Regions from separate parts of the Homo sapiens genome. Here all the other regions are linked to region 5. Evidence: promoter capture Hi-C in 16 types of primary human blood cells and fetal thymus (Javierre and others, 2016). All regions are on one chromosome and are shown on one strand. The core of a region is centred on a gene start or on the middle of the fragment in contact, and the rest is flanking DNA. Distances in the headings are between cores, read along the strand shown.

Region 1 (3,645 bases), core at 758-3,257, 1.7 Mb after region 5:
TCTGACTTCACAGTTTTGTTTTGATATTATGCAGATAGGATCCCCTAAATTCATTAATGGTTGCTGTAGCATGTATTGCAGTACTTGTACAGAAGAAACAACTGGTAGTACTCCATGAACTCCATTCTCTGGTTTAGTGAGCATTACACGATGGCTTGGTTATCTGGGGGAGGTACTGGCCTTCAGAATTAATCCAGGCTCCAATTTTTTTTTCCTTGTCTCCAATATCAGAAGACATTGAGTCCCCTGTCCTTCTGGTTTAAACCACTACTTGTTTGGTTTTCTTTTACTTGTAGCGAATATGTTAACTAATATATCCAATAATGGCTAAGATTGAGTGCAGTACTCTGCCAAACCAGAAGAAGGGAGGCTTACAGCAAATTACATTTGGTTTATAAACATAAATTAAATGTGATATTTCTATTTTATATATTTTATTATTATTTTGTAGAAATGAGGGTCTTGCTATTGCCCAGGCTAATCTCGAACTTCTTACCTCAAGGGATCCTCCCTCATCGGCCCCACAAAGTGTTGGGATTACAGATGTGAGCCACCTCACTTGGCCTAAATGTGACATATCTTATTCTCATGCTAAAGAATAAACTCTGTACCCACCGTGTAATACTATTTTTCTCATAATGTTTATTGTGGAATTAAGGAGATAATATGGTCTCAGGAAAGTTGTGTTGAGTGGTAGTCATCATCATTACTGCTATTCTCATTACGTTGAATGTTTGGAAGCTGTGGGAAATGGGAAAGAGGAGGAAATTGGGAAAATAAATGAAAATAGCCTTACAAATTTCAGGTTCTTCAAGTCTCAAGAGCTCCATTTACCCTATAAGTGCAAAATATTTTCACATAAAACCCAGTCTGTGGATCGTTAGTTATTATTAATCTAATAATATCATAAATTGGTACTACTATTCTATTTTCCATTTGGTTAAATGGGAATTTTGAAAACAGAATTATTTTGGCTTTTCACCACAAATATGCTCAGCAACTGGAATTCTTAAATCTGCAGTTTTTTTGTTTTGTTTTGTTTTGTTTTGTTTTTTGTTTTGAGACAGAGTCTCACTCTAGTCACCCAGGTTGGGGTGCAGTAGCACTATCTGGGCTCACACAACCTCCGCCTCCCGGGTTCAAGCGATTTTCCTGCCTCAGCCTCCCGAGTAGCTGGGATTACAGGCAGGTGCCTGGCTAATTTTTGTACTTTTAGTAGAGATGGGGTTTCGCCATGTTGGCCAGGCTGGTCTTGAACTCCTGACCTCAAGTGATCTGCCCGCCTTGGCCCGCCAAAGTGCTGGGATTACAGGCTTCAGCCACCGTGCCCCGCCTAAATCTGCAGTTCTGATGGAATGTTTTGACTGAAGACTGAACGTAGAAACAGTACCTTGGGTTTTGTTGTTGTTATTTTTTCCTAACCCGGCCCCCTATTAGTTTACTATGTATTAGAACCTGAGAGAGGTGACTACTCTGCCAATAAATTGCCACATTCAATATTCTTCGGTTGCCTAATTCAGTGGGAAACACAGAAAAAAAGGTAAAGAGGACATGAAATCAATAATAAATGCATCATCTATACCGGATTGGAATGCCTCTTAACACTCATTCATCTGAGGGCTGAGGGCCTGTGGTAGAAGTTCTTAATCTTGTTTTCAGGGTTTTGAAATTGTGTAACTTTTTTTTCTTTAATGTAATGAGCATGTGTATACACATTTTTTTTTTTCCAGGGGAAACCCTCCATAATTTTTACCAGATTGACAACCGTTCTAGATCCCCCGACAGGTTACGAACTACAATACTAGTTTTTTTTTTTTTTTTTTACCGGTTTGTAAAAGGATGCAATTCTTCGAATATAGTTTTTGCATCCACTTGACGAGGAAGGAGCCTCTACCCTAAACAAAAATGGCGGGAGCTGCTTCACACGTAGTCCCTCACGCAGAAAGCCTGGAAGGCCCCCTCCACTTTCTCTCCACCTTCGCACTCCTGACCCCGGAAGGACTCCGCCTTCTCCATGTCAGACTGCTGCTCAGCGCCAGGCATCAGCTGGGAAGCTGGCGTGGGCAGGCCAGCTGTACCTGGCCTGGAGCTCCAGGTACAGGGCCAGGGGCGGGGTGGGGTGGAGAGGCGGGCGGGAGGAAGCGGAGAGTTGAGCGGCCACGCAGTTGGGGCAGAGGCCTCGGGGCAGGGGTGGCGCGGACTCCATCGCTGGCGTTAGCTCTCGGAGTGCCAGGTGGAGCGGCGGAAAGCCAGAGGGTCTACGGCCGTGCCACCCTGAACACCCCCGACCTCGTCTCATCTCAGAAGCTAAGCAGGGTCGGGCCTGGTTAGTACTTGCATAGGAAAGCAGGAGGGTCCCCACGCCAGAGGGAGGCCTGCAAAGGAAGCGCGGAATTGGGATGGGCTCGCCACTGCTCTGAGCCAGAGGAAGGGTCTGGACGGCCGAGCTGGAGGGACCCCCTTTTCTGGTGTTCTTGGCAAAGAAAAAGGAAGACAGCAGAGGAGAGCTCCGCGAGGGGCTGCTGTGGGGTCGGGGGAGAGCGCGCTGGAGGTAGGGCAGCTGGTGAGGTCTCAGGTTCGGCTTGGATGCGGGTGGTTTTGAGCAGGGAGTGGCTTTTGGATGTGAAAGATTACTCTGCTTTGCAGGTGCTTTAAGAGAATAATTTAGCACGGGAGTATTGTGGTGTCAGGTCCTTCTGTAAAGTTGTTAAATTATCTATTTTCCAGAGGGAAGACTCAGCTTGTTTTTGCACAGGACTTTGAAACCTTTATTATTGTTGTTTTATTGTTGTTGTTATTGCAGCTAAACATGTTTGCTCTGTTCAAAGTGTCAGAGTTAGGTTATATAGATTTGTGCTTCACGTCAATTTTCTTTTTGATACTTCAGACTTTCCTTCCTGTTGGATTATAAAGTCAAAGTTGCAGGATAGAATTTTAAGATGTCTAAGAAACTGTTTATGACACTTATTTTTAATTCCCCAGTAGTTGGAATGTAGAGGAGCAAGTAATATCACACAGGACAATATTTTTGGTTATGTTTTATAGATTCCGTCTATAAATTTGAATAATCATGAAACCCCCTTCATGTTTATTTTTATTATGCTTCTGAAAGCAAATGAAATGACTAGTTTTTTGTTTTTTTTTCTTTAGTTTTTCAATGAATAATGATTAGGTTTGGAATCAACTTCCTCAGTAATATTAAATGAAAAAGAATGAGGTAGTTAGAATGCAAAAATAGAGGTTTGTCATAATATTTTTTCTTTTTTCTTTTTTTTTTTTTTTTGAGGCGGAGTCTGGCTCTGTCGCCCAGGCTGGAGTGCAATGGCGTGATCTCTGCTCACTGCAACCTCCGCCCCTAGGGTTCTAGAAGTTCTCCTACCTCAGCCTTCCGAGTAGCTGGGATTACAGGCGCCCGACATCACTCCTGGCTAATTTTTTTGTATTTGTAGTAGAGATGGGGTTTCGCTATATTGGCCAGGCTGGTCTTGAACTCTTGACCTCAACTGATCCACCCACCTCGGCCTCCCAAAATGCTGGGATTACAGGCGTGAGCCACCACGCCTGGCCGAGGTTTGTCATAATCTTTTAAGAATATCTCTGCAGCCAATTAAAGTGTTTGCTTTATTTTCTTTCTATTCTGCTTAA
Region 2 (3,341 bases), core at 696-3,195, 1.3 Mb after region 5:
CGTCATCATCAACCATTCACTGTTCCTCATTTTCTCAGCACATGGACTTGACAGCATGCTCCTCCAGGTCCTTTCCTGCAGAGCACTGTAGCGAAAGAGGGTCTGTATAAACCCATTTCGATTGCCCTTGCTTAGAATTTGGAGTCAGCATGGTGTGTTATAAAGAGAAGTAGGAGCTACTGGCTCTGCCTTTGGTCTCAGGCACTTTCTACATGACCTAGGCCAAGTTTTTTAACTTCTCTGCATCTCATTTTCCTCTTTTCTAAAATGAGAAGTGGGATTCTGTGAAACAGACGTTGAAAGTAGTGGCAAAAACCACAATTTCTTTTGCACCAACCTGATAGTTCTAAAATGTCTATTATCTTATAATGGGAAAAATACATATATAGATTTTTTTTTTATTTCTGATACTTACTGCCTCACAACATAAGTGCAAACTGACCTTCAAACTGGGCTTTACGACGGCTGAGTATTTTGGCCCCAAAATACACCTTACAAAATTATTTATTTGAAAAAAATACCAAAAGTACAAAGGTAGAAAAATTATGTATAATCCCACTAATGTTAAAATACATATGTAAATTAAAGTTTCCCACCTCTACCTTCTAATCTCTGTTAATAGTATGGTGGGTAGTCTTGCCAACTCCATTCTAGCAGCCATCTTATGAACAGTGGTCTGGCAAGGGCTGTGCTGACAGCATGACTAGCATCACCCAGGGTTGTTCTGAACACACTTATGCAACTGCAACTCTTCATGGCAACGCTATGATTACTTTTCCAAAATGGTTTGATGGTTTAGTATGTCCATTTTGAAAAACTTTATCATCCTGTAAAAAATGTAAAGATATAAACACAGTAAACACTGGCATTACTGCTTAGAACTTAATCAATTTGGTAATGGCTATTACTTTGTCAAGTTGGTAGACAGCAGGGACAATGATAAGAGAAGAGAAGGGGGAAAAAAGAGAAGAGATGAGAGAAGACTGTGTAAGGACATACCCCGACTCATTTGGAAAGAAAATATGAAAGCAACATCGGGGACAGGTCTATATCTGAGAAGTGTATGAGATGCTTAACATTTTTTACAAATTTATATTCATTATGCATTACTCATTGGATATTCTGACTAAGAATGATTTGCCAAGGCCAAGTTTACAGTGAAACAATGTTTTTTCACAGGATATATAATATTTTATGGGCAGCACTGAATTCAGTCTTTCTGGGTAGTTAGATGATATATATTTCCTAGCAGGAAAGAGTTATTAAATGAGAATGATGAATCAGTTGTGCTTCAGAAGTCCCATTGTAAAAATTACCAGTTTAAGTCTGAGCCTTGGGGATTAATGGGTAACTGATTTAATGAAACCTGTAGTACCTAAGGGAAATAATCTCTCTATTCATACATTAAGTTAACCCGATTTTTCTTACCTTCAGCAACTAAGGTGACCCGAAGGCTTGAGGAAAAACTCGAGTTTTCAGGGAGTACGCAAACTTAGCCCTTCCTGTTTCTGGAAACCCCTTACTCTCCTCCCACTCTGTACTTTGCTCATGGTGTTCCTTCTACTTCCATTATTGTTGCAAATCCTGAAACTGCTCCCCCTCCTGGACAACCTGTATTCACCCTCAAAATTCAGGATCATAGATTAGTACCTCATGAAGAATCTTAACTCCACCATCACCTCTACTACTAATCAGAATTAGTAGCTCACTCTCTTGGGTTGCTGAACCTTTAATAATAACTCTTGTTGACAAATTATTCTTCCTCACAGTATTTTCTTCTTCTTAAGGATGCAGACAGTGTCCAGAGTCTCTGCATTTTGAATCTCCAGCAAAACATTGTACCTGGCAGATGAGAACAGTCTAGAAATGTTTGTGAATTTAATGTGATATAGGAAAATATGGAAACCTAGTGAGAGACTGTTTGCTTTAGAAACATACATAGACAACCTCCATCCACTTATCTTTTCTTTCCTAATCTTAGGTTCAAGTGACCTTGATCCTTCGATGATATTGGACACTGGAGAGATCATTGATACAGGATCTGATTATGAAGATCAGGTAATTAAAATCTGAAAATAGTTCTCTATTTAAATGTTTTTAAGTTGAACCTTTGTAAATGTTTTATGAAAATTTGAATTATAAAAACTCATTTTGTGAAATATATACAGATAACTAATAACATATTACATGATAAATTACAGTAGTCTACAGTTTTCATTCACTAAGTTTGGCTTTTTGGCACTCCCTTGTCCTAAGATTCAAAACACAGTGAATTAAAGAAAGGTTTATCATCAAACGTTAACATGGGATAGAAATGAGGTTCTCTTGCCCAAGAATTTGCCTGTGTCTCTATCCCTTCCCACTAATAAACTAATAATATTTACTGAGCATCAGCTACAGGTTCAGGGCTCTGCTATTTTATCGCTAACTGTATTAGTCCATTTTCAAGCTGCTGATAAAGACATACCCAAGACTGGGCAATTTATAAAAGAAAGAGGTTTAATGGAGAACTCACAGTTTCACATGACTGGGGAGACCTCACAATCATGGCAGAAGACAAGGAGGAGCAAGTCACATCTTACATGGATGGCAGCAGGCAAAGGGAGAACTTGTCCAGGGAAACTCCTGATTTTAAAACCATCGGATCTTGTGAGACCCATTCACTATCACAACAGCACAGAAAAGACCCGCCCCTGTGATTCAGTCATCTCCCACTGGCTCCCTCTCACAACATGTGGGAATTATGGGAGCTACAAGATGAGATTTGGGTGGGGACACAGAGCCAAACCATATCACTAGTCTGTGGAAGGGAATGATGAACGAGGAAAGCATAGCCAAGAAGTTAAATACATTTTCTCTTTGAATAAAACTGAAGACATTTATCTGGGTCATTTTCCTCTCAGCAGAAGAACTCTCTCTGCTGCTATATTTTAATGAACCAAAATAGTTGGCAAATGAGCCAACCCCCTAATTAGGCTTTATTTTTAAAAAAGAAAAATGTCCAAAACTTTCTTCCGCCTCTCATCAGTGCTCCTCAGCAATGGCTAAAAGCCAAGTGAACATGTTCTTGGGGGAGGCTTTGTTCCCATCTTTAACTAATATTCATCACAAATAAAGCAAACAGATCAGACCAGTGTCCATGTGTAATGGCTGGCTGTATATTTCATATACGTATTCAGGAGCTATTTTCTTGAGTATAAAGTTCTTTCCTTATAGCACAAAGCAAGGAGATGATGTTGGCAAGTGCTATAATAGCTACACATGTTTATAGTAATTTTTAACATCTATTAAGCACTTATTACATGCAAAACGTTGTGCCGAGTTTCTTATATTAACTCAGC
Region 3 (3,730 bases), core at 88-2,587, 1.7 Mb after region 5:
CCCTTTTCCACCTATGCAAAGAAGAAATTTATCTCACCATTTTCTCCTTAGGCTAAAATCAAGAGGATCAAATCAAATATTTATTGAAACCTTAGTATCTGCTTAATGCCTGGAGCATGGAAGGAGTCCTGCCTTCTAATTATGTAACTGTTAAAATGCACTCGATTGAGGTTCAAATCTATGAATAAAAAAGGTTATATTAATAAAAAATTGTTAAAATTGCCAGTTTCAATCTGTCTCATGACATCTGACTTTTTGGTCTCCAAAATGGGAGCATGTACCAAAGTATCATGCAAGATGCTCAGTCTCCATTGGAATAGGTAGAAAATATAAAAGCTTCTACTTATTTTTATGGTAAAAATGAAATAAATTAACCATGATACAAAATTCTAGGTAGGGATTGACACTCAGGCCTCAATTTGCACCACAAATGATTGCCTATCCTCGGTTCACTGAGGAGAATAGAAATTTCACAGAATAGAAGTTTCACAGGCAGGCGCCATGGTTCATGCCTGTAATCCCAGCACTTTGGGAGGCCGAGGCGGGTGAATCACTTGAGTTCGAGACTAGCCTGGGCAACATGGCGAAACCCCATTTCTACTAAAAATACAAAAATTCGCCAGGCATGGTGACAGGCACCTGTAGTCCCAGCTACTCAAGAGGCTAAGAGTGGAGGATCACTTGAGACCAGGAGTTTGAGGTTGCAGTGAGCCATGATTGTGCCACTGCACTTCAGCCTGGGTGACAAAGTGAGATATTCTCTGGGAAAAAAAAAAAAAGATGCCGTTAGGAGATGAAAAGTTGTCTCCAGCCGGGCACAGAGCCTCACACCTGTAATCCCAGCATTTTGGGAGGCCAAGGCGGGTGGATTACCTGAGGTCAGGAGTTCAAGACCAGCCTGACCAACATGGTGAAACCCCCATCTCTACGAAAAATACAAAAATTAGCCAGGTGTGGTGGCGCGTGCCTGTAATCCCAGCCACTCAGGAGGCTGAGGCAGGAGAATTACTTGAACCCAGGAGGCAGAGGTTGCAGTGAGCCAAGATAGAGCCACTGAACTCCAGCCTGGGCAACAGAGGAGGACCCTGTCTCAAAAAAAAAAAAAAAAAAAAAAAAAGCTGTCCACAGAGGAGATCTACAGAAGAAAAAAAAAGAAGAGAGACAGAGAGAGAAGAAAAGTTAGGCCAGCAAATAGAATTTATTTGAAATACATATAATTGAAAAGGGGCTCAACTCCATATGTATTTCCAGAAATCAATTTTTAAAAAAACAGGCGACCAAATAGAAAAATAGACAAAAGTCACTTCCCCAGAAATTCTTCTATTGAAAATGTATCAGGGGTATTCTGTTCTTACAGTGTCCTAGCAAATTCAATTCAGCCTCCAAGTCCCACCACCATCCTGCTTAGTAACCAAGGTTCTCTCTGGGCTTACCTGTCCTGGAGGAGTTCTAGGGCAGTGTCAATGCAAGGAAGACAACTGACAAGGCTGTTCAAGATCACCAGGTGCGGTGGCTCATGCCTGTAATCCCAGCACTTTGGGAGGCCCAGCAGGGCAGATCACCTGAGATCGGGAGTTTGAGACTAGTGCGTAGATAATAGTAGGCAAGTACTTCTCAGGTGGACACCAAGTGAAGTCCTTGCAGTGGACAAGTTCTCACAAAACAAACTCACTCTGATAGAATATAATGTAATACCTCTCCCACTTTTAACTTCCGTGAATTCCTGCCTCCCACCCTTGGGTGTTTATCCTTTCATCCCACAGTCCAGATTGCTTATCTTTTACTTTTCTTCAAACAATATCTCCTGATGGCTTATAATGGCTTATAAGGAAGAACACTATCATTAGGAAATAAATCAATCAACTTCCCCTTGAGAGAATAGATTATACATTCCAAAGTGTGGACACCCAGCTGAGTCACTGATTCTGGAGTAGAATTCTAGAGGGTGTGTGGACACCCAGCTGAGTCATACTGATTCTGGAACAGAATTCTAGAGGTGCCGTTCATGGAGAATATAATGTAAATAGTATGACTTAGAGTTGTGCATCAGGCCAGGTACTGAAGTCTCTTCTAATGAAAGGGAGAAAAAAGAAGAAATGAAGAGTAGGAAGAAAAAGAAGAAAAGAAGTCTCTTCTAATGAAAGGGAGAAAAAAGAAGAAATGAAGAGTAGGAAGAAAAAGAAGAAAAGAAGGAGAGATACAAACAGGGAGGGAGGAAGACAATTGAATGGTCCTATCAAAAACAAATACCTTCTCATTTTTGTAACTGAGTAATGGCAAGTAAAAAATAGCAACGTAGAAAATATACATTTTGGTGCTTATGTACCTGAGACTAAATAAAGCTTTGTAAATGCTGTTTCCTTAGAGACAATTTTACAGATACTCCCAACCTCTATCCTTCCTTCACCTGGCTAACTCCTACCTAGATATTCTCTGTTTAATACAGAACTCTTTACCCCATTATTTCCGGTTTCAGCATCCTGCTTGCTTCCTTTAGAGAATGTATTATAATTTGTAATTATCTTAAATTTTTTGGTATACTTAATTTTTTGCCTGTCTCTCCTGAACTCCTCAATGGGAGCAGTGAGTATTTATCTTATTCACAATATTCCCAGAGCCTAGCATTGAAGGACTCAAAAACTTGTTGGCACTCAACTGGGGGTGGTTTTGTCCCCTGAGTGGATAGTTGGCAATATTTCTGAAGAGGATTGGTGGGAGAAAGAATTAGTAACATTCCTTTGCATTGATATTACAAGAGAGTCCCAGACATCATTAATGCCACTATTGAGAAACTCTGATTTAAGCTGGGGCTTTAAAATATGTCTTTGGGCCGGGCCCAGTGGCTCACGTCTGTAATCCCAGCACTTTGGAAGGCCGAGTTGGGCGGATCACCTGAGATCAGGAGTTCGAGACCAGCCTGGCCAACATGATGAAACTCCATCTCTATCAAAAATACAAAAATTAGCTGGGTGTGGTGCAGGTACCTATAATCCCAGCTACTCGGGAGGCTGAGGCAGGAGAATCGCTTGAACCCGGGCGGCGGAGGTTGCAGTGAGCTGAGATGGCACCACTGCATTCCAGCCTGGGCAACAAGAGCAAAACTCTGTCTCAAAGTAAAATAAAATATGTTTCTGGGCAGGGCGCAGTAGCTCATGCCTGTAATCCCAACACTTTGGAAAGCTGCGGCTGCTTGAGACCAGAGTTCAAGACCAGCCTGGGCAACATGGCGAAACCCTGTCTCTACAAAAAATTGCAACAATTAGCCGGGCATGGTGGATCATGCCTGTAGTCCCAGCTACTATGGAGGGTGAGGTGAGAGAATCACTTGAGCCCAGGAAATTAAGACTGTCATGAGCCATGACTGTGCCACCCCTCTCCAGCCTGGGCAATAGGAGTGAGACCCTGTCTCTCAAAAAACAAAAACAAGAACAAAAAAAAAAGAAAGAAAGAAAAGAAAAATATATTTTAAAACAAATCTTAGGCAAAGCATTTTTGCTTTTCCGCTCACTGTCACATAATTAAAAAGTCCACCAGGCCAGGTGTGTTGGCTCATGCCTATAATTCAACACTTTTCAAAGCCAAGGTGGGAGGATCAGTTGAGCCCAGGAGTTCGAGACCAGCCTGGTTAACAAAGTGAAATTCTGCCTCTACAAAAAATTTTAAAAAATAATACCAGGATACGATGGCACATGCCTGTAGTACAGCTACTCCAGAGGCTGAGGCAGGAGGA
Region 4 (3,498 bases), core at 771-3,270, 1.5 Mb after region 5:
CATTTTAAAAATAAAGACTTCGATCTTTAATAACAGGGCCAAGTGCAATGGCTCACACCCGTTATCCCAGTTCTTTGGGAGGCCAAGACAGGAGGATTACTTGAGTCCAGGAGTTTGAAGACCAGCCTAGGCAACATTTCGAGACCCTGTCTCTCCAAAAAATGCAAAAATTAACTGGACTTGGTGGTATATGCCTGCAGTCCCAGCTACTTGGGAGACTGAAATGGGAGGATCACTTGAGCCTGGGAGGTCAAGGCTGCAGTTTGCCATGATCGCACCACTGCACTCCAGCCTGGGCAACAGAGCAAGACTGTCTCTCAAAAAAAAACAACAACAACAACAAAAAAAAAAAACATAAACAAAAGTGTTTTTGTTATATAAGAGCAATGTCTTAAGAATTCAGGGCTGCAAAGGCCTTTCCAAAATTAGATTGTCTAGTGATTTCCACCTTTTGAGCAGCCTGGAACATTAAAAAAAAAAAAAATCCTGGTGTGGTGGCGCGTGCCTGTAATCCCAGCTACTCAGGATGCTAAGGCAGAAGAATTGCTTGAACCCAGGAGACAGAGGTTGCAGTGAGCTGAAATCACACCACTGCACTCCAGCCTGGGTGACAGAGAGTCCCTGTCTCAAAAAATAAAAAAAAAAATTAAAAAAAAGAAAGGTATTTCTTCCACTTTTAAGATTTGTAAAGGTGGGAAAATTCCTAAGTAATTCAGGATTTAACCACTTTTAGAGTTGGAAAATCCCTCTTAGCTCTCTGTTGTATTATTCCAACCTGAATTCTACAAACTCACAAATGACTGCTCGTGAGTACAGGGTTGAGTTCTCAGACAAATCTGATTTCTGGAATCTTCCTTAGAGCTTTCTAAGTTAGTGGTGTCCAAAAGACCAGATTACAACACATTTAAAGATCTTCATTGGCTTTTATTCATGATTCTAGAATTGGGCAGACCTCAGGACCAGAAAAATGTTTGAAGAATAAGCCACATGGTCAAGCAATATTTATGTTTAGAAAACAGAAGTGAGGAACTGAGGTTAATTAGTTACAGCCTTATGTGAATCAGCTGGCTACCTACTATTGACTTAAGCTCAGCTGCTGGAACTACCAAAACTCAGCCATCTGTTACAGTGTGTACATCCAAGTTGTTTGTTTCATTTAGCACGGATGACTCCACGTTGGTTCGGCCTGTTGGGCCCAGAACGGGAGCCTAGTCCAAACCAATGGCCTCCTACAAATTTTATTTAATGGTGGAAAAGAGGTTTGCAGTCCCCTGGCTCATCTCTTCAACTTCCCCTGCATTTTGGAGATGCTGGCTGCTGGGTGCGTGGTGAGGTAACATTATGATCCACTGCACAAATATGTAAAACCTCTCCAGCCCGGACTGCAGAGCAGCGTGAGCTTCAGCCTTCAGGACTCCCAGAGAGTCTCAGGGAGGCTGCTTCATCCCACTGCCCCTGCCCAGGGCCATCCCCTACCCACACAGCTGCAAAGATGAACAGTCCTCCCTACACACCTAGCATAGAAACAGTGTGTGCTGGGCCCAGGAAGCTGAGATTTGTCTGCAGGTACCCGTGGGGTTTGCCAGTAGCTAGGGTGACAAGAGCGGGGACTGCAGGAGAAGCAGGGGAGGGGACAGGATTGTTTGCCGCTGGAGAGGGAGAAAGCCACTGGCCCACTCTGTTGTCTGGCCTCTGGGTTTTTGCCCAGTCCTCCTGCATCAGCTTAATCTCCCTTGGTTCCTAAGTAACAGCTTGTGGCCTGCTCCTGTGATGCTGTTTGGATTGTTTGCCCCTCCTCCCTGTTGTTTTACTGGACCCAAGACAGGGCTGCTCACCCAAGAGGACCTCTGGGTCACTTAAGGAGCTTTCTTAAAACTAGGTGGGGCTGGTGAATGCACTTCAAGAAAGCAAGTGAGATGAATCAGCAGTTCTGTGAGATTTATTTAGGAATTAAAGCCACAGGGGGGGCCAACCCATGCAGCCCACAAATAGGCCACAAGCACCGCCCTCAGGCCTCTACCCAGCAATGCTGACATTGAACCCATCATCTGACACCCTCCATCCCCCACTCCATGACAAGTCAGCCCTTTGGCCACCAGCTAGCTAAGGAAAGTGCAGCAAAATTTCAAACAAAGATAATTTTTAAAGCAAAGCAGAATTTATACAGCCACTCCCTTATTCTTTATGTCATCATAATGCCATCCTTGTACAATAAAGTTAGAACTTCTTGTAACGTGCACACCAGAGATGGAAGTACATGTGATACAGGTGTATCCCTTTCTGCCTGTTTTTCTCCCTCTCATAAAGCAGAGGTTTGCCCTGCATCTGAGAAAGAATTAGAACAGAACTTTCCTCCATTTCATTCCCCACCTCACTACACTTGGGCCAGGCAGCGTTCGCCAGTCATGGCACTTCCTACCAAGTCTGAATGCTGTCTCAGAAACTTGCTCAACACAGCCGTATGGACCATCACCCCCAACTGACTAGAATTAGCCTACAAGAAGAAGTTTTCTTTCACCTTAGTGAGATAATTTATTATGGCCATAAGTAACTGAAATGTAGCATTTGGGGATGAAAAGCACAGTTACCAGCCAAAGACTCCCTGGGGGATGGCGGGGGGAATATGGGCCTGTGCATCAGAAAGCCCCAGGCACACTTTCATCAACTTCGGTGAGTCATTTTACTGCTTCACCTCTCAGTTCTTCTTCCTAAAGTGGATAGAACACGATCTACTAGAATTGACCAAGTCTATTATTATAAAAGTAACACATACTTGCTTTATAAAATATAGAAAACTGGTCAGGTGTGGTGGCACATGTCTATAATCACAGCAGTTTGGGAAGCCAAGGAGAGTGTGGGTCACTGGAGCTTAGGAGTTTTTTTTTGTTTGTTTCTTTTTTTTTTAGAGATGGAGTCTCGCTCTGTCACCCAGGCTGGAATGCAATGGCGCAATCTTGGCTCACTGCAACCTCCACCTCCTGGGTTCAAGCCATTCTTCTGCCTCAGCCTCATGAGTAGCTGGGATTACAGGCACCCACCACCACACCCAGCTAATGTTTTGTATTTTTATTAGAGATGGGGTTTCTCTTATGTTGGCCAGGCTGGTCTCGAACTCCTGACCTTGTGATCTGCCTGCCTTGGCCTCCCAAGGTGCTGGGATTACAGGCGTGAGCTACCACGCCCAGCCAGGAGCCTAGGAGTTCTTGACTATCTTGGGCAACATGGCAAAACCCATCTCTACAAAAAATACAAAAGTTAGCCAGGCGTGGTGGAACACATCTGTGGTCACAGCCACTCAGGGGACTAAGGTGGGAGGATTATTTGAGCCCAGGAGGTTGAGGCTGCAGTGAACCAAGATAGTGCCACTGCACTCAACTGGCGAGATCCTGTTTCCAAAAAAAGAAAAAAGAAACAAAGAAAATGTAGAAAACTAGGTAGTCCCACCACTCAGAGGCAAACATTGTGGGGCGTTTTCACCACATCTTTTTGCTGTGAATT
Region 5 (3,510 bases), core at 506-3,005:
ACCCTCACCCCTTTGCTCTGCTGTTCTGCCAGGGACATGCAGGAGACGGAGGCCTTCCTCTTAACCGCAAGAGGCCTTCCTTTTTTACTAATATTCCTCAGCACAGACCCTTTACGGGTGTCGGGCTGGGGGACGGTCAGGTGTTTCTCTTTCTCCTTCCTGAGATCTTTGCTTCCAATTTGGCTAAGGCCCTTTCCATGTTATAGTATCATGTATCTCTTATTCTTGTCTTTCTCACTTAACTGTGAGCCCACCTTGATGTTAGATATTCTGAAAGTCATTCTCCTATCCCTGAAAGGTCTTCAATAAAGATTTTTCCTCCACTTAGTGGAAGGTGAATAAAGTTTATTCTTCCATTTAGTAGTGGCTCAATAAAAAAGTTTGTGGAATCAATCAAGGGATGAGTAAATGAATGAAATACTGAATTTTCCTGGCCTATGAAGGACCATGAGCTAAAGCAGCGGTTTAAAGTATATAGTCCCAAACAAAGAATTCTTACTAAAAACACACCGGATCTGTAAGGCAGAGGAGGGAGGGGCGGGAGGAAGAAGTCGAAGAGCAGGGTGTGGTATTCCAGGGAGACTGAAGACAGGAGCTTCCCATGGGACAGGCAGTTCATCCACAGGCTCAGCTTCTGCAACCTCCTTCCTGTGGTTACTCCTGCTCTCTAAGAATTCTGCATGTTCTCATCAAGAAAATACCAAATTCCTTGAAAGCCTGGATTCTGCCTTGTGGTTTGTGAGCCAATCTCATGACACCACCAGCCCACAGTGCTTTTCCTGATTCCATGGAGGCAAACTAGACGGAGCTTCTAGCAAGTGAAACTTCTTTTGGGTAGATATTTGGGGGCCGCTTTTAAAATTTTTCTGACAGACCAAGTGGTAAAAATCTGTGTGTGTACACGGAATGCTCTCTCCCTTCTGCAATGCGTTTACTCTCCTTGTAGAAATAACTGCTTCTCTTAGCCGGCTCTTGCTTGGAGCAGGGAAGAGCAAAGTCCTATCATGTACACATACACAGTTTATAAACATATACTGTACAATCAACATGTACATATATAATACAATATACACATGTGTGCATCCTGTATCTGTATACTGTATATCATGCATATACAATTTCATAAACAAGCTTGTACCAGGAAAAGGCAATAATTTATATATTATACACACATACATGTATATGTAAAATATGTACACACACACAAAATATACCATACAGAGTGTAAGGTTCATGACGTCTTTCTTTCGTTGATATTTGTGCTCACTTATTAGCGGTAAATTATTAATTTTAGATAAGCCCATCACAGAGTGAAGGCTCAATCCTTGAACAGCCCAGGGAGAACTTCGTTGCTACTTTTGAAAAGCCCTTTGATGTGCCCAAAGTCTCCAGAAGGGCGATGCCAAACCCACTCAACTTTGACAAAGTGTGAAACGTCTGTAAAAAGGAGTTCTCTGATGTGTGAGAGGAGACGGAACCGAGAAGAAAAGGCCGTACTCTGCCCCCCGCGGGACCCAGGTCCCCGCCTGCTGCAGAGCGCACTCTGCGCACGTCGAGCCGCGAAAGGTTCACAGAAGAAAACAAGAGAAAGAAGTAGCAGGCACTGAGGAGCCGCCGGCGCCGGCGCCCAGGACGGCACGTGACCCGGGGGCGGGGCCGCGCGGGCCGCGGGCCAGTGGATGGGGACGGGGGCGGGGCCGCGGCTCGGGGGGCGGGGTCTGTGGCGGCGCAGCTTACACCGCGGTCCCCTTATTTGGATCTGCGGGAATGTGGGCTGGAGAGGTCCTGCCGTGGTACCAGCCTCCAGCCTGCCCCCAGGACTGCCCCTGACCCAGGCGCGCCCGCTGCTCGGTGGCAGGAGGGCCGGCGGAGCGCCATGGCCTGCATCCTGAAGGTAACGACTTGGATCTGTGGCTCGGACGCGTGGTTGGCCAGCCCCTTGCTGCTCAGAGGCACGGAGTCAGCCGCGGTCCCACCGCATCCTCATCTCAGTTGTCTTTTCCTGGCATTGATTTTCTTTTTGTTCCTTTGGCAAATGCATATGGAGGGAGATTCTGAAACATGCAGCTGGCACAGCTTCTTTTCCCACCATTCCTGCCTCCTGCTCGCGCCTGCATTGAAGGAGCTGCAGACTGTTGGCTCCAGGGGAGAGCAGGGCTGTGTGCCGAATAATGGGGATGGTAGGGAGAGGAGGGGTGTTCCCGCGGGTCCCGCGGCTCTGTGGAGCCTGAGGCCTTTCAGGGGCCACGGGGAGGGGTGGAGTGGCTAGGCGTGAGTTGCTGGTGGTGAGGGGCATAGCGCTTTAAATGGAGGGAAGAGTGAGCGGAGGTGGGCTCTACTGTGCATTTGATCATGTGAAGACAGAAACTTCTGAGTTTACAGGTAGTCCCTTAGGAATGAGTTTTCTATGAGATCTGCTAGCTCTGTTTGCCCTTAGCTCTACTTTGGAAAAGTTCACACGAGGATGTATATGTTAGTAGAGAACCTCTCACTCTCTTTATGCTCATAAATTTGAATAGACAAAATGATTTTATGCTCTGCCAGAGTGCGCTCAGCCATCCCTTCTTTGTTGAGTTTTCTTTCTCCAAGACCGGATTCTTAGCCTCACCTGAGCATCTTTCTGGGTTCACAGACTTGTGGCCTCAGGTGGGAGAACTTGGTGTGAGGGCCTCACTTAAAAAGAACTTTCCATCCCACTGGTAGAGGCCTCCCCTGCCCTCGTTTTTTTTTTTGCACTACCTTTCTACAAGAACATAACCTGGATGCATGAATCAAAAACATGAACAGCATGAAAGTTTCCTGGGCCTTGACTGGAGAATGCAGAGACCTAGTTGTCCAAGCCTGGGGGAACTGTGTGACGATGGAAAATACCAGGAAACAATTCGTTGTTGTTGTGTTATTGTGAAGTAGCATTTATTTCTCTATAAGATGATATTAAGTCATCTACTGTGTTCTGGTTACCTGAATCGTCTTCTAACGTGCCTGGTGTCAATGATGAAAATAAGAGACTAACCTCGTAGAAGTTGTTTCCCCTTCTTTGCGTAAAGGAGATCAGAAGTTTCCTGTGAGCTTTCTGAACTTCCTCTTTTTGTTTCAGAACATTTTCCAGGACATGAGGAAATAATACATCAGTATTACAGTATGGGGTATTTGACCGGGAGGCTCTTAGCACAAGGACTGAAATATGAATATGAGTCATCTTTACTATTCATTGTGTTATTTGCTGAAAGGGACATTGAGGAGCATGATATTTATTGCTGGCCATCTTTTTCTGTTTTGGTTTCTCCCCTGCCTTGTCCTATACATGTGGTAAACATCTTTAATGCACATCCCAAACTACACATGAATCTGGTCCAATCTTTCTCTTCTAGCACTTCACACTGCTTTCAGACATTTGGGACATATCTGTCCACCTTATCTTCCCTCCACTGAAACTAATGTGGGCTTTAGACTCAGAAAGATATGTCTGGATGCTGGCTCTGCCCACTGCTACCTCTGTGATGTTGGACA
Region 6 (3,753 bases), core at 153-2,652, 1.8 Mb after region 5:
GGCCATTGTACTTCAGCCTGAGAAACAGTGAGACTCAGTCTCTAAAAATAATTAAAATAGGAAATATTTTTGATATTTTGGAAGGAGGTGATACTGATACAAAATGGTTTACTAGTAATATTTTGTGTTTTAAAAGCATAAACACAGATTTTATTATAATTATTGTGGTTTAAAAGTATGCCTGCAAAAAGAAATATAGCACAGTAGTTGTATTTCAAGCCATCTTTACAATGTTTCCTATGATAAGAAAATAGCTTTGCATTAGGCAGGGTTTGAATTATGTTTTAAGGAATGAATTCCACCCATAAAATATAACCCACTCCATATTCTATAATTTATTGTTTGCCATGTTCCATGCTGCATTTCCTTAACCATCCTGAATTAATGAGTCATTATTGCATGCATTTCTAAGTGCTAGTGCACCAAGAGTTTAATACAGGCTTAAACAATAGTTATTTGTTCTATTCCTCTTTTTTTTTTTTTTTTTTTTTTTGAGATAGGGCCTTGCTCTGATGCCCAGCCTGGAGTGCAGTGGCATGATCTTGGCTCACTGCAACCTCCGCCTCCAGGGTTCAAGTGATTCTCTTGCCTCAGCCTCCCAAGTAGCTGAGACTGCAGGTGCGCTGGGGACTACAGTCGTGCCCCACCACACCTGGCTAATTTCTGTATTTTTAGTTGAGGCGGAGTTTCACCATGTTGGCAGGCTGGTCTCGAACTTCTGGCCTCAAGTGATCTGCCCGCCTCAGCCTCCCAAAGTGCTGAGATTACAGCATGAGCCACGATGCCTGGCCCTGTTCTGTTTCTCTTATAGGAATATAGGAGTTGTGCAATCACAAACAAATGAAATGAAGATTTGAGTTAGTTCTCTAAAAATGAAAACGTTTTCCTTATTCACTTATAAGACCGTTTAGTGCTGAATGTGAGATGTTGAAATCACTAGAGGGCAGCACGTTTTATCTACATGTTGGATGCCTGTGACTCAGGTGCCATTCTGTGTTGCTACTTGTAGCACTGGGAGTTAAATATAAGTCAACACTTGCTGGCAGGCTTTGTATGCACCTGGTACTGTAACTCAGAATGAGAAAGAACGTGGAAGTTATGCAGAGAAGACATGAAATAACATTACTGTAAATTTCCATTATTGTGCAAGTTCTTCTAGCTAAAAGTATCTGGAAGTGTTATGTTTATGTTTATTTGTAGCTTCTATTTTCAGAGATTGTTAAATTATAATTGATAAACTTTTTTTTTGTAACTTCTGAAGGCTTAACGAAAACCTCCAATATGATTTCAATTATACATAGTATAACTTAGTAATTAAGAATATGGGCTTTGGAGTCAAACAAGCATGGGTTCAAATCCTGGCTCTACCCCTCTTGCTAGCCGAGACATTAAGCAAGCCTTGACTTTGCTTAGACTCAGCTTTTTCATCTGTAATGTGTAGGAGTATATTAGGATCAACTTCATAAAACTGTGAGGATTAAGTGAGATTACATAACATATTTAGCATAGGCACATGGTAAACACTTATCTATTCATTATTATAATTATAGTCTAGCAGTTTAAAGAGGCCTGTTCTAAGCTGGTTTAAAAATTTCATAGTTATAGATAGGAGGATGTCACATGTTCATAAGTTGTTTTACAATGATATTGTTAGTCAATTCTGCAGACAACATTCTTTTTTTCTGGGAATTAATTTGATTTTTCTCATAGTAATATAAATTTGTATTTAATGAAACAAGGTAAGCCATGTTTAAACTTATTTTTTGGTAAAGTAAAAAAAGGTGCTTTTTATAAATCTACCTTTTTCCGGGTTAGAAATTATCTGAAGGGTTTGAAAAAATAATTATTCTAGATGTAGCTAAGATTACTGATTTTCCCTCATCTCTGACCTTGTCATGCGTAGGAGGAAAATAAAAAATGATAATGGATATACTGCCTCTTGCTGGCATATCCTATTATTATTAATTATTATTATTATTTGAGACAGGGTCTTGCTCTGTTGCTTGGGCTAGAATTCAATGGTGCGATCATGGCTCACCACAGCCTCAACTTCCTGGGTCCAAGTGATTCTCCCATTTCAGCTTCCTGAGTACCTGGGACTACAGGCGTGAACTACCATGACTAGCTAATTTTTTAATTTTTTGTAGAGACAGGATCTCACTATGTTGCCAGGCTGGTCTCGAGCTCCTGGGCTCAGGCAGTCCTTCTTCCTTGGCATCCCAAAGTGCTGGGATTACAGACATGAGCCACCATGCCAGGTCTGGATTCTGAATAAATTAAGAACACAAAAAGAGCCTTTTTTTTTTTCTGAGATGGAGTCTTGTTCTGTTGCCCAGGCTGGAGTGCAGTGGCACATTCTTGGCTCACTGCAACCTCTGCCTCCTGGGTTCAAGTGATTCTCCTGCCTCAGCCTCCCGAGTAACTGGGATTAAAAGCGCCCGCCAGCACGCCCAGCTAATTTTTTTGTATATTTAGCTGAAATGGGATTTCACCATGTTGGCCAGGCTGGTCTCAAGCTCCTGACCTCAGGTGATCCACTCAGCTGGGCCTCCCAAAGTGCTGGAATTACAGGCATGAGCCACTGCACCTGGCCAAAAAGAGCCTTTTTTTTTTGAGATGGTGTTTTGCTCTGTGGCCCAGCTGGAGTGCAGTGGCACGATCTCCGCTCACTGCCTCCTGAGTTCAAGTGATTCTCCTGTCTTAGCCTCCCGACTACCACGCCTGACCTAAACTTTTTTTCTTAATAGCCAGATTGGACAATGTGTTAAGGATTTTTACAACTTCTTCCTTTCCCCTCAAAAAAATTCTCTGGAAGCTGGGTGTGTTGACTCACGCCTGTAGTCTCAGCTACTTGGGAGGCTGAGTGGGGAGGGTTGCTTGAGTCTTGGAAATCGAGGCCGCAGTGAGCTATGATCACACCACCGCACTCCAGCTTGGGTGACAGAGTGAGACCCTGTCTCAAAAAATAAAATAAAATAAAATAAAAAATTATCTGGAGAAGAGAATACAGAGCAAATTAACAACATACTTACCCAGCCAGCTGCGTAGAGATTCCCTGCCTGCCTTACAATTTCTGCCAACACTTTGTCCAGCTCAGAAGGAGTGAGATCCAGAGCAAAAGTGAGGATGGGTTTGCAGACCCTGACCTTTCTCTAGAAAGTCTGCGAAGGAGAGTGAACTAGTACACACCAAGAACTAGTGAACATTAATTTTATCTTATTTTCCTCTACCTGGTTAATTGCATGCAGGTTCTCAGCATTAGCCAAGTTACTCTTCCCATGGGGAGGAGCAATTGAAGAGGTGAAGGGAGCAACTTAAAATGTAAAACCAGAATAGCTGCTTCTTGGAGATTGGAGTGGAAGTCCTATATGAAATATGAAGGTGGGATACAAAAATTAGCTGGGTGTGGTGGTGTGCATCTGTGGTCCCAGCTACTTGGGAGGCTGAGGTAGGAGTATAGCTTGAACCCAGGAGGAGGAGGCTGCAGTGAACCAAGATTGGGCCACTGCACTCCAGCCTGGGCAACAGAGTGAGACTTTGTCTTATAAATAAATAAATAAATAAATAAAGGTGGGTGGGGAGGTTTAATGGTTTCCTTTGTGACATTGATTACTCTTGACAATACATTATAATTATTTATGTACATATCCAGTGTGTTATGCTAAACCTTAAACTCCTTGTGGGCAGAAGACATACTTAATTCTATTCAGTGTCTGAAACTGGTTTGAATGTAGTATAGATAGTAGTAGGTCT
Region 7 (3,465 bases), core at 295-2,794, 1.2 Mb after region 5:
TGTTCACCTCCACTGTGCCTGCTCACAAAGGAAGCCTTAATGCCACGGACCATTGTACTTTTCAAGCATCATTGCATAGGGAAGAGACACTGCCTTCACTACTGCCATAGCCAATCTTAAATAAGCTAAAGAAATACTAGAAGTTGGGACTGTAAGTGAAATGGCATATTCTAAGGGCAAAAACCAATTTCCATGGAACTGAAATACCTGCCTCGTTTAAGGCAACCATATGACACACGGGTTCACAAGTGCTAAAAGTTCATTTACTCCCTCAGGTAAAACAAAGCTGCAGCTGTAGTTAAGGCTTGAGCTGCAGTTGTTTCCGGAACAAGAAATAGAACCAAGAAAAGATCTGCAAAGAAGCACTTGAAATGGACATTCAGACTCTATAGTTTTTTAAAGCAGTGGCAGCGTTGCTTCTTTCTCCAGCCAGACCCCAGATACCAGTGCCTACCAAAGTGTCCTCTCTCACACACCCTCCTACAGTGTTAGGCTTTGTGGGAAGTTAGAGATCATATTCTCCGGGGGCAAGGACTATCTCCCAAATAGGCAATGTGAAGACATCTTAGCAGGGAATTGAGTCATCTTGGGAGCTAGGAGGAAGATGGGTTACACCTTAACAATGGTCTGCAGCAGGAAGATCCATTAACCATTATGCCTTAGCGCACCCACTCATACTCACTCATATTCCCCCAGGGGTGCTCTGATACGACACTGTCCACGGACTGCACACTCTTCAGGTCTAATTAATGATGCCCACCCTCCCCACCTACTAAACACATTTGCAATTTAAGCATCTCTAGCTCTCCACTACCACCCACCTTTCTCCTCCACTGTCCCTTCTTCTCCATGGAGATAATTAACTAGTTGACTACTTATTAGTCCTTCAGTTGATTAGGATTTCAGGCTCACACTAAGGCCTTATCCTAAAGTCTATAAAGATTTGTGACACCGACAGGGTAAAAATTCGAAACCAGCTAGCAAAACTTTCCTGAAGGATAGAGATACTCAAGATCTAAAAATTATCTGAAGGGTTGGATTCCACACCATGAATCCCCTTTTCCCCCTTCCCCACAGCTCCCTATAGTGAAAGATCCGTAACCTTAGGAATAAATGATAAATCCTGTGACTATTAGGTTTTTCCTGGGAGTTCCTCGGAGACCCGGAGGTAACCGTGTATGTGCGTGCGAGTGTGTCTGTGTGCGTACAAGGTCCGGAGAAGCGAAACGGTCGCAGGTTCCTACAGACCCCGACCCTGTTCCCTTGGCCACCTGGTCCCCGGTAGCTGCATCCCTGGGCGGCGCACGCAGTGAAGCGTCGCGCTCTGGCGCCGGTGCCGCACCGAGGGGTATGACTACGACCCCTTGCGCGTGCCCGCCCCCACCTCCGCACCTCGCGCCAGCCCGCGCAGCGTGACCGGCAGCCGCCGCAGACCCGGCTCGGGGAGGCGCGGAGCGCGGCGCGCTGAACCGGAGAGGCGGGCCGGCTGCTGCCTTGCGTTCGCCACGCTGTCCTCCCTCCTCCGCTCCCTGCGCCCCACCCCTGGCGGCCGCGCTGCCTGGCAGCCCGGGAAGCCGCGGCACAGCTGCTCGGCGCCTGCAGCTCCGGCTCGGGGGCTGGAACCGAAGCGGGGGCGGCGGGAGCGCGGAGACCACAGCCCCCGGGGAGAGGCGGAGGGGGTCCCTGGCCTGGGCGGAGAGGCTGAGCTGAGTGCGCGTGAGAAAGAGGGCTGCACCGCTGCTCGGCGCGGACTCTGCCAGCCCCAGCTTCAGCCCCGGCTCAGGTCGCCGCAGCCCGGGAGCCTCCCCGCTTGCGCCCCAAGGCACGCGCGGCACAGCCATGAACACCAACGATGCCAAGGAGTATCTGGCCCGGAGGGAAATCCCTCAGCTTTTTGAGGTAGGGCTAGAGCTGGCCGACGGGCGGTAGCATCCGGGGACTGCATCTCAGGGGTTCGGGTTGAGGCAGCCGCGCCCCGTCCCACCTTCCCCACACGGGGCATGTAATGAAGGGGCTTGTAGAAGCGCACTCGCCCGCTCCCCCGAGGGTAGTCGCCTTTCCCGCGGGTTGCCAGGGTCCTTGTCAGAAGGCTGGGCTTAGAAGCCTGCATCTCACAGATCAAGTTTCAGTCTTCCAGCAGGGTTCTGAAAGCAGCCTGCTCCCATCGCGCCCCTCGGATGTGGACACCCAGGGTGGGCTGCAGACCGCGGCCGGGCCGCACTCTCTGGGGGCGAGGGCCAGGTCAGGTGGCTGCACTGTCGCCCAGCAGCGAGTAAAGACTCGAAACTGAGGGAGCCAGAGCCCTAGTCACTCTGCTGGTCGAGGGTCGGAACCCCTGGGGGAAAGAGGAAATGTGGACGAAGGCAGCCCTTCCTGGAGACAGCTTGGAAGAGAGGGATGAAGATGCAAAAAGCAAAACCCAACCTATCAAGTGCCACCTCCCCGGTGACAGGCCCCCAGCCTTGCTCTGCGCTTTCGCTGAATGAACTCCTGAGCACGTTTTTCCCGTTGCCTAGGAAGGGTTGGGCCGCAGGTTTCGCCAGTGCTCGACAACCCACCTGGAGATAGCGGGTCGGGGAGGGAGCTGCGAGGGGGGCGGACTCCTGTTGCTCAGTCTTCAGACCGCAGCACAGCATCATCTGCACCGGGACCCGGGAATGGGGGGACACTTGGAGACTGAGAGAGAGGAGGCTCGAGGAATGAACCTTGGTCTGTTCTAAGCCACAACCCCTGTCTCAGGTCGTTTGGCTTCCTTTCCTTCTCTTTGTATTTGAATTTAAAAACATTCCTGAATCTCAAGTGCTTTTGCTTGAAGTAGGGGGGAGGAGGAGAAAAGAATAGAAGCAAGCCAGGCTTCCTAAGCGAGCTCTGAAAGGAGAAATCCATTCACTGCAAACCTCGTTCCCCATTTCTGAAAACGGATAGACTGATATCGTAAACTAAAGGTCATGAGGGTTTTTCCCCCCGGTTTGGGGGATTTGTTCTGTTAAAAGGAATTTTAAAGCACCACTTGAGAAAATAATTTTGCCTCAGTTTCCCTAAACTATCTTTAAAATGGGTTGCCATAATTACAGGTCTTCTTTTCTCTCACCTCTATAAGCCACCGTTTTCAGGTCATCTGAAGTCAAGATTTCCAGGTAAACCACTCACTGAACTCAAGCGTGGTATGTGAAGCCCAAATCTAGCAAATGTGTTACTCCTGCGTGAAAATAATTAGGTGGTGTTGCATAAGGACAGGTCTTGAGAATATGTGGGAATCTTAAGAGTTGTTTTTTTTGTTTGTTTTTATTTTCAAAAAGTAAATATGGAAATTAAGAGGCGAAGGTTTTTCTCACAAAGATTACTACTGAGATATATTTCATTTCTACGCTTCTAAAAGAATCATTAAAAACATCTGTAGGAGGACCACGTGATTGCAAAAATTCCTACATAGTACATCTTTTTTTCTTTGTAAATGTGGGTACT

Evidence for each region. The method cuts DNA at HindIII sites, captures the fragments that hold promoters and counts their contacts. A CHiCAGO score of 5 or more calls a contact.
Region 1: a contact is called between the fragment with the promoter of MIGA1 here and the fragment with the promoter of ST6GALNAC3 in region 5, in 4 of 17 cell types (non-activated CD4 T cells, naive CD4 T cells, total B cells and 1 more). The highest score is 10.1, in non-activated CD4 T cells.
Region 2: a fragment that was not itself captured here is called in contact with the fragment with the promoter of ST6GALNAC3 in region 5 in 3 of 17 cell types (M0 macrophages, M1 macrophages and M2 macrophages); the score reaches 8.9 in M0 macrophages.
Region 3: a contact is called between a fragment that was not itself captured here and the fragment with the promoter of ST6GALNAC3 in region 5, in 3 of 17 cell types (monocytes, fetal thymus and total B cells). The highest score is 8.7, in monocytes.
Region 4: a fragment that was not itself captured here is called in contact with the fragment with the promoter of ST6GALNAC3 in region 5 in 1 of 17 cell types (naive CD4 T cells); the score reaches 5.5 in naive CD4 T cells.
Region 6: a fragment that was not itself captured here is called in contact with the fragment with the promoter of ST6GALNAC3 in region 5 in 1 of 17 cell types (monocytes); the score reaches 7.6 in monocytes.
Region 7: the fragment with the promoter of AK5 here is called in contact with the fragment with the promoter of ST6GALNAC3 in region 5 in 2 of 17 cell types (M1 macrophages and M0 macrophages); the score reaches 5.9 in M1 macrophages.

Annotation. Positions count from the first base shown.
Region 1 is chr1:77,777,642-77,781,286 of GRCh38, forward strand. MIGA1 (mitoguardin 1) reads left to right here and starts at 2,008. Exons shown (of 16, transcript NM_001416120.1): 1 at 2,008-2,095. It also overlaps the pseudogene RNA5SP21. RefSeq lists an enhancer at 1,895-1,984. The HindIII fragment of the contact is 6,952 bases long and covers 1-3,645 here.
Region 2 is chr1:77,415,658-77,418,998 of GRCh38, forward strand. It overlaps AK5 (adenylate kinase 5), which reads left to right. Exons shown (of 14, transcript NM_174858.3): 8 at 1,982-2,058. Among named protein-coding and RNA genes, the nearest start is that of AK5, 140 kb to the left of the region's middle. The HindIII fragment of the contact is 4,885 bases long and covers 1-3,341 here.
Region 3 is chr1:77,760,276-77,764,005 of GRCh38, forward strand. No RefSeq gene overlaps it. Among named protein-coding and RNA genes, the nearest start is that of USP33, 2.3 kb to the left of the region's middle. The HindIII fragment of the contact is 2,006 bases long and covers 335-2,340 here.
Region 4 is chr1:77,538,020-77,541,517 of GRCh38, forward strand. The region is part of intron 13 of AK5 (adenylate kinase 5); the gene reads left to right. Among named protein-coding and RNA genes, the nearest start is that of ZZZ3, 140 kb to the right of the region's middle. The HindIII fragment of the contact is 5,942 bases long and covers 1-3,498 here.
Region 5 is chr1:76,072,991-76,076,500 of GRCh38, forward strand. ST6GALNAC3 (ST6 N-acetylgalactosaminide alpha-2,6-sialyltransferase 3) reads left to right here and starts at 1,756. Exons shown (of 5, transcript NM_152996.4): 1 at 1,756-1,894. The coding sequence starts at 1,877. RefSeq lists a silencer at 1,557-1,756. The HindIII fragment of the contact is 5,160 bases long and covers 1,130-3,510 here.
Region 6 is chr1:77,824,514-77,828,266 of GRCh38, forward strand. The region is part of intron 7 of MIGA1 (mitoguardin 1); the gene reads left to right. Among named protein-coding and RNA genes, the nearest start is that of MIGA1, 47 kb to the left of the region's middle. The HindIII fragment of the contact is 4,876 bases long and covers 1-3,753 here.
Region 7 is chr1:77,280,475-77,283,939 of GRCh38, forward strand. It overlaps AK5 (adenylate kinase 5), which reads left to right and starts at 1,545. Exons shown (of 14, transcript NM_174858.3): 1 at 1,545-1,899. The coding sequence starts at 1,840. RefSeq lists a silencer at 1,405-1,464. The HindIII fragment of the contact is 11,909 bases long and covers 1-3,465 here.